2 separate regions of the Homo sapiens genome follow, and region 1 is linked to region 2. The links are contacts of gene promoters, found by promoter capture Hi-C in blood cells and fetal thymus (Javierre and others, 2016). All regions are on one chromosome and are shown on one strand. The core of a region is centred on a gene start or on the middle of the fragment in contact, and the rest is flanking DNA. Distances in the headings are between cores, read along the strand shown.

Region 1 (3,521 bases), core at 212-2,711, 1.0 Mb before region 2:
ATTTAGCCGGGTGTGGTGGTGTGCGCCTGTAGTTCTAGCTACTTGGGAGACGGAAGCAAGATCACCTGAGCCAGGGGAGGTCGAGGCTGCAGTGAGCCGTGATCACGTCACTGCATTCCAGCCTGGGTGAGTCAGTCCCTGTCTCAGGGGGCGGGGAGAAGCTTATTATCTACCATATACCAGGTATAAGATTATCTATTACTTTCTAAGAATCATGCTTTAGGAGGGGAGATTAGACATGTAGTAATAATACTGTGTTTGGCATATCTCGGGTCCCCAATAAATAGTTGTTAAACGAATGAACATAAAAGTATCTCAAAATAATCGCCCTTATTTCAGAGACCCAGAGAGACTGAAAGGCTCCCTGAAGTAGTGGTTTCCCATAACACAGAACTCATTTCATGTTGGGTCGATCATTTCCGAGCTTCGTAACTAAGTGACTCTGGGCAGGCTGCCTAATCTGAAAAAGGGGATAATGCCTTTCACTTCAGTGTTGTTATGGGGTTGATAATGTATGTGAAGTTCTCCCCACAGAAGGCGCTCAATAAAAAGCAGCAACTATTATAAAATTTTATTAGTAGATACTCACTAGCCATTGATCTAGTGTTTTTTGTTTGTTTGTTTGTTTTACAATTAACTGGGCTCCAGTTATGTAAAACACCTCTTGCAAACGCATTTAAGGACTCGTCGAGACTGAGAGATCACTGCTTTTATCTGGTCGGGAGACACCAGCAATCTTAATTTGGAACGGTTTGATAGAGCGGAGTGCGATGAGGCGGTCCAAGGTTCCTAAGCAACATAGACCTGAGGGGCTTGTCTCCAATGTCCTTTCACCTGTCTTTCAAGTCCCTCTGCTGACCGCACAAAGACTCCCGTGGCCCCGGCAGCAGCTCGGCCTTCTCTACATCTAACCACGTTTACTAAATTTCTACGGCACGCAGCGCACCGCACCAGGAGCTGGGAGCGGCTCGCGGTACAGACCTCCTTCCTCTTTTACTTCGCTGCAGCGGGAGAACTAAGTCCTCTTACCTGAGGCACTGCTGAACTGGTTCGCAAGCAGTCACTCTACCCCCAAGACTAAAACGGTATACCCCAGATCACCACGCAAGTGCGGATACCACAGAAATCCCACCTTCCCCCGGGACCGGGAGCAAAGCCCGCTGGGAAATTGACCTTTCACCCCCTCTCTTGCCTTACCTCAGCTCACCAATTTTGACGCTAGCAAATGAAGCGACGAAGAGAGCTGGAAGGCGGGACTTAGTGTTGCCTGATCCACGCCGATTGGACAACAGCAGTGTCGGGGGACGGGCCGCTCGAGCGGGCTAGCAACCCCCCCTCGATGGGCGGGGAGAAGCGTGGGCTGCGCTTGCGCACTGAGAGGCGGCCGAAGGGGCCGAGGCGGCTACGCGTGCGCGGTGGGCGGAGCGCGGCTCTCCTACCTTCTCGGGCAGCCCAGTCTTTGCCATCCTTGCCCAGCCGGTGTGGTGCTTGTGTGTCACAGCCTTGTAGCCGGGAGTCGCTGCCGAGTGGGCGCTCAGTTTTCGGGTCGTCATGGCTGGCTACGAATACGTGAGCCCGGAGCAGCTGGCTGGCTTTGATAAGTACAAGGTACCGCGGGCCGGCGGATGCCCCTCTCCCTGCTCCCGGCCTCGCCCAGGCGGCTGAGGGGCCCGCGCGGCGCGGTCCGTGTCACCTTGTGCCGCGTGGCTCCGGGCGGGCTGGCGGGCGTTCCTCCGGAGGTCCTGCGGGTCCTGGGGATTGGGGGTCGGGGAGCGTGGGAGCATCCTAAGCCCGCCGCCCGTAGTCGGCACCCCCCGGGAGATTTCCTTTTCCTTAGGAGAGCGCTCAGTGATCATGGAGCGAGGGAATTCCCTTCCTATTTTTTTTAAACTTATTATTTTCGTAAGCCCCCGAAAGGATGGAGTTCCTTCTGTTGTGTCAATCGCCTTCATTTTAGTGAAGTTTCCACTCGCCTGTCATGCATACAACTTCGGAGGAGGAGATGATCGTTTGGCAGATGAGGCCCGGGAGGGGAGCGACTTGCCGATGCCATCCTGCTGATGTCTCCACTTCTGCTCCCGGCAGGGACTTCCTAAGCGGCAGCTTGTGGCGCTAGGGCCACCAGATGAAAGGGAGGTGCACAGGAAGGAGCTGTGGAGTGGAAAGAGCGCGGGCTTTCGAGCACATACAAACCTGATTACAAAAGTCAGATTTCTTTATTTCGTCTTGGGCACGTCATTTTAACCCCGCTCAGCCTCTCTTTTGTGTATGAAACTGAAAGTAATAGCTTCTGCTGTGCAAAATGATTAGAGGAATTTGTGAAGCGCTTGGCAACATACTAGGACCCCAGTAAATAAATGCGGGTGGTTAACTTTCCTCCAAATCTGGTTCCCATCCGCAGTTCCTTTACCAATGAATGACTCTAACCATCCAGTCGACCAAGCCTGAAATATGGGCTTTAACCCTTCATCCTTGTTGTTACCCGTTCATCTTCACATCTTAGCTTAAATATTGCTTCCTCAAAGAAGCCCTCCCTACGTGCCCCTTTCCCCCTTAAATGTGCGCTCTGTTCGTTTATGGAATTGCTGCTTTAGCGTGTCTCGCCATTAGAATATAATGCCCAACTCATTAGAGTTTTCTTGTGGACCATCATGGCTTAAGCACAGTGCTATGTGCATACTAGGCACCCAGTAAGCATTTGTGGAATGAATGAATAACTGAAAAAGTCATAATGGATTTTGTTTAACTCGAGTTAAAAAAAAAAAAAGCAAGGGTCCTTAGAAGGTCACATAGCATGTTTCTCTGCTTTCAAGCCGTATTGTGCCATACCATTCTGAACCGAGGTGATGACTTGTCTTAACATTTTAAGTGGAAAGAGGGTCCAGAGCCTTCTTGGTAACTCGGGCCAGTGCTTTTCAACTTTCATTTTAGAAGGCTGTTAACCCAGATACCTCCTGTTTTGCCTTAAGCTCTACTCCCCTTTTGTTGTCTGTTCTGCAGGGTAAATATTGACATATAAAACATTTTCTTCCTTACTAGGGTCTGACTTTCTAAGTGCCAATAAAATAGCTATTTCAATGGGAGCAGTGTTTATAATAGGAAATCTCCTTTTTCTTATAAAGAATCTTCCCTAGATTTATATTTTCAACTAAATAAGTGTCTTAATTTACTAGAAGTTTCGTGTAATTTTCTGTTCTGATCTTTCCCCCTTTTTTATTATATAAGTTCCTGTATCTGACAGCAGATGACTTCCTATCATCCTGGAAAACAAAGGTCGATTTAGCAAGCGTCCAATGTTCACTAAAATAGTTTGTTGATATCATTTTAGTTATAATGAGGCTTCCTTGGGGAAAAAAAAGCACACATTTATAACCTAAATATTCTTCTATTGCAATTACTCAATACTGCATTTATATTAAAATTATGAATCCAGTGGTATCCAAAGGAAAAATCCATGGGATCAGTTTTGCTTGAACACAAATCTCACAGATCTTTTTTTCTTATCGTTGCGTTCCCCTTAT
Region 2 (3,524 bases), core at 502-3,001:
AAAATTTGATACTACCAAACGGCTCACCAAAATTAAAACTATTTATGTATATTAGTACCCATTTTATCATACCGTTACTGATCTTTTTAATTTTCGCCAATCTGATAGGTGAAAGAATTCTTCCCCACTCTATTTATTTGCACTGATAATAATTGGTGTCAGCAACTTCTTTCTATATATTGGACATCCATATGACTTTTATGAATTGCCTGTACATATAATTTGCCTGGCCGGGCACGGTGGCTCACGCCTGTAATCCCAGCACTTTAGGAGGCCGAGGTGGGCGGATAACGAGGTCACAAGTTCGAGACCAGCCTGACCAACATGGTAAAACCCCGTCTCTACTAAAAATACAAAAGTAGCCGGGCATGGTGGCACGCGCCTGTAATTCCAGCTACTCAGGAGGCTGAGGCAGGAGAATCGCTTGAACCCGGGAGGCGGAGGTTGCAGTGAGCCGAGATCACGCCACTGCACTCCAGCCTGGGCAACAAGAACAAAACTCCGTATCAAAAAAAAAAAAAATACACTTCTCATGGAAGGCAGCAGCAGGATGTAATGGTACAAATTCTGGATACACAGTAAAGGAATAGATGATCAGTAAATTCGTACTGAGTTTCTAAAACCTTCCATTGCACCCCAATCTGTCTGGTTCCCATGCTGCTCCAGGATGCCAGCTTGACCTCCCCAGCCAAGAAAAAATAATGACACAACACTGCACCTTAAGTATGAAATTACTTTGAATACACTGCTTAGCTTAATATATTGTTTCCTAAAGTGTTCCTAGGGTACAACTGGCGGTATGCAAGATGATTTTAATGGTACGAAAACGAACATTTTAATGACTAGTGCTTTTATTTCAACTTACATAAACAATTATAAGTAGCCCATGAAACCCACGGTTTCATTTATATTGCTTAGGTCGAGACTAATGCATTTAAACTTTTTAAGTAAGTCAATTTAAAGAGAACTATTCAGAAAACAATAGTACAATTGATAAGAGATTGCAAAAATAGTGATGGCACGGGATTGACTTAAAATTGTATATGCCTCTGGAACAAAGAGGTTTGTCCATACCCTATACATCCCTCCAACAAAGTGAGTTGCCTCCGACGGAGTTGAAGTCGCCACCTCTGACTTCCCCAACAGGCAGCCAACTTGCCACGGGACAAAAGGACTAGACAGGGAAACACAACTGGCCCTTGGTTACGCCAATGGCGTTGCAGCGCGCGGGGCACAACCCTCGGGGTTAAAGAGCCTCCTCGAGGAAGAGGCTGGGACACAGCTGAAAGAGATTGACCCACAACCACTCTAGGGGCCATCACCTGCCCTTCTTCAGTCCTGGGCGTGAAGGTAGATTTCTCCCCTAGCCTGTGCGGGAGAGGAGCCCTGGTTTTTCTAACAAGGACTACTGTAGGTTCGCCGAGTTCGAGGGACGCTACGTATGCAGCGCCTACGCCCGGACACAGGCTTCCGCGTTACCGACACCGCGTGGGGGAGGAGGGCAAGACCCGAGGCTTGCAGAGATGGGGGGTGCACGGTGGCCACAGTAGGGAAGGTGCGGAGCATGATGGTGCTCTGTAGGAGCGCAGACGCTGAAAGGCGCGCTGCTGTGGCTGGGAGAAGAGCGGAGCCAGGAGTTTGTTCCCAATATCTTAGTGCTATGGCAAAAGAAGGGGGAGGAGTAATTGTGGGGCCCCCCACACACCCGCTGCGGCGATACACTCACCCTCGCCAAAGTCCTTCCGGAAGTCTAAGTTCGAAGATGGCGCCGCCTGTCTGGTCGCGGTCTTATGACGAAATCTTGTTAGCTGCTCTTCACTGACGCCCCCACCCCAGTGCACAAGGTAAACACGTGTGCTTGGTCCGGAGTCGGTGCCGGGCTAGTTTTCTCTTAGACTCTGTATTCCATAATGCAGCGCGGCCAGAGTCACCGAGCCCTCCGAAGCCAGCCGAGTTCCAGGGCGTCTTCAGCGGCGCCAGGGACGCTGCAGGGCCTCATGGGAGTTGCAGTGTCAAAAAGGGGAGATCGACGCCTGCGCGGCCAACGGGATCCCACGCGGCCTCGACGGGAGCCGGGAGTAGGCGGACTCCCAGGCCGGGCTCGCGCTCTGGATCCCTGAATCCGGCCTTTCCGGCCGGACTGCCGCGCCTGTGGCCGGAAGAGCCAGCTAGACCAGAGAGTCTGTACCTGCAACCCTGGCGGCGTCCGAGCCCAAGGCGGAGTCTGGGAGACAAAGAAGTCCTCGCCGCCGGCCGCTGGAGGATTCTGCCAGTAGTGAAGTCAGGGATGGGCCCGAGAGAGCTTGGAAAGAGGACAAGGAAGGGAAGGAGTAGGAGTAGAAAAGCATGACTTTGGCTGGGTATGGTAGCTCCTGTCTGTAATCCCAGCACTTTGGGAGGCCAAGGCGGGGGAGGATCACTTGAGCCCAGGAATTCGATACCAGCCTGGGCAACATAGTGAGACCCCGTTTTTATTTTTATTTTTATTTTTTCCTGAGATGGAGTCTTGCTCTGTCCCCAGGCTGGAGTGCAGTGGCGCGATCTCGGCTCACTGCAAACTCCGCCTCCCGGGTTCAAGCAATTGTCCTGCCTCAGCCTCCCGAGTAGCTGAGATTACAGGCGCCCGCCACCAAGCCCGGATAATTTTTGTCTTTTTAGTAGAGAAGGGGTTTCACTATGTTGGCCAGGCTGGTCTCGAACTCCTGACCTTGTGATACGCCTGCCTCAGCCTCCCAAAGTGCTGGGATTACAGGCATGAGCCACCGCGCCCGGCCTAATTTTTTAATTTTTTCTAGAGATGGGGTCTCGTTATGTTGACCAGGCTGGTCTTGAACACCTGACCTGAAGTGATCCTCTTGCCTCAGCCTCCCATAGTGCTGCGATCACAGGTGTAAGTCACTGAGTTTGGCCATTATTCCATTTCTGTACACAAAAACCTTTCTCATTCTGTGCTATAACTAGTTAGCATTTAATTGGGTGGATGTGGTATAACTAGTGCCTTGTTGATATTGATGCATATTTACATGGTTTTGCTGTTATAAACAATGGTCCCTTGCTATTATAAATCACACTGCTATAAGTAACCTTGCATCTAAATTACTTCAAATGTGTAACTATATGGGTAGGATAATTTCTAGAAGTGGAATTGTGAACCAAAGTTTTAGGTGCATTTGTAATTTTGATTTATAACCAATCTTTTCACTGATCTACTTCTCTGCCTCTAATTTCTACTAGGTGTTTGTTTGTTTGTTTGTTTGTTTTGAGACAGGGTCTTGCTCTGTCACCCAGGCTGGAGGACAGTGGTGCAATCACGGCTCACTGCAGCCTCAACCTGCCACCTCAGCCTCCTGAATAGTTGGGGTGTGTGGCAGGTGTATACCACCACTTCCAGGTTTTTTTGTTGTTGTTGTTTAATAGAGATGAGGTCTTGCTATATTGCCCAGGCAGGTCTCACACTACTGAGCGCAAGCGATCCTCCTGCCTATGCCTCCCAAAGTGCTGGGATTACAGGTGTGAGTTGCCAT

The links. Contacts are between HindIII fragments. The CHiCAGO score rates a contact against its expected background, and 5 or more counts as called.
Region 1: the fragment with the promoter of SELENOI here is called in contact with the fragment with the promoter of GTF3C2 in region 2 in 1 of 17 cell types (non-activated CD4 T cells); the score reaches 6.8 in non-activated CD4 T cells.

Annotation. Positions count from the first base shown.
Region 1 is chr2:26,344,682-26,348,202 of GRCh38, forward strand. It overlaps SELENOI (selenoprotein I), which reads left to right and starts at 1,462. Exons shown (of 10, transcript NM_033505.4): 1 at 1,462-1,608. The coding sequence starts at 1,552. It overlaps ADGRF3 (adhesion G protein-coupled receptor F3), which reads right to left and starts at 2,108. Exons shown (of 14, transcript NM_001321971.2): 1 at 1,440-2,108. The coding sequence starts at 1,553. RefSeq lists enhancers at 927-1,066, 1,387-2,154, 2,267-2,366 and silencers at 1,277-1,506, 1,557-1,616, 1,677-1,726. The HindIII fragment of the contact is 12,799 bases long and covers 160-3,521 here.
Region 2 is chr2:27,355,013-27,358,536 of GRCh38, forward strand. It overlaps GTF3C2 (general transcription factor IIIC subunit 2), which reads right to left and starts at 1,752. Exons shown (of 19, transcript NM_001035521.3): 1 at 1,727-1,752. GTF3C2-AS2 (GTF3C2 antisense RNA 2) reads left to right here and starts at 1,753. Exons shown (of 4, transcript NR_183827.1): 1 at 1,753-1,844; 2 at 2,796-2,890. RefSeq lists enhancers at 1,146-1,759, 1,273-1,552, 1,603-1,942, 1,760-2,373, 1,953-2,082. The HindIII fragment of the contact is 6,500 bases long and covers 1-3,524 here.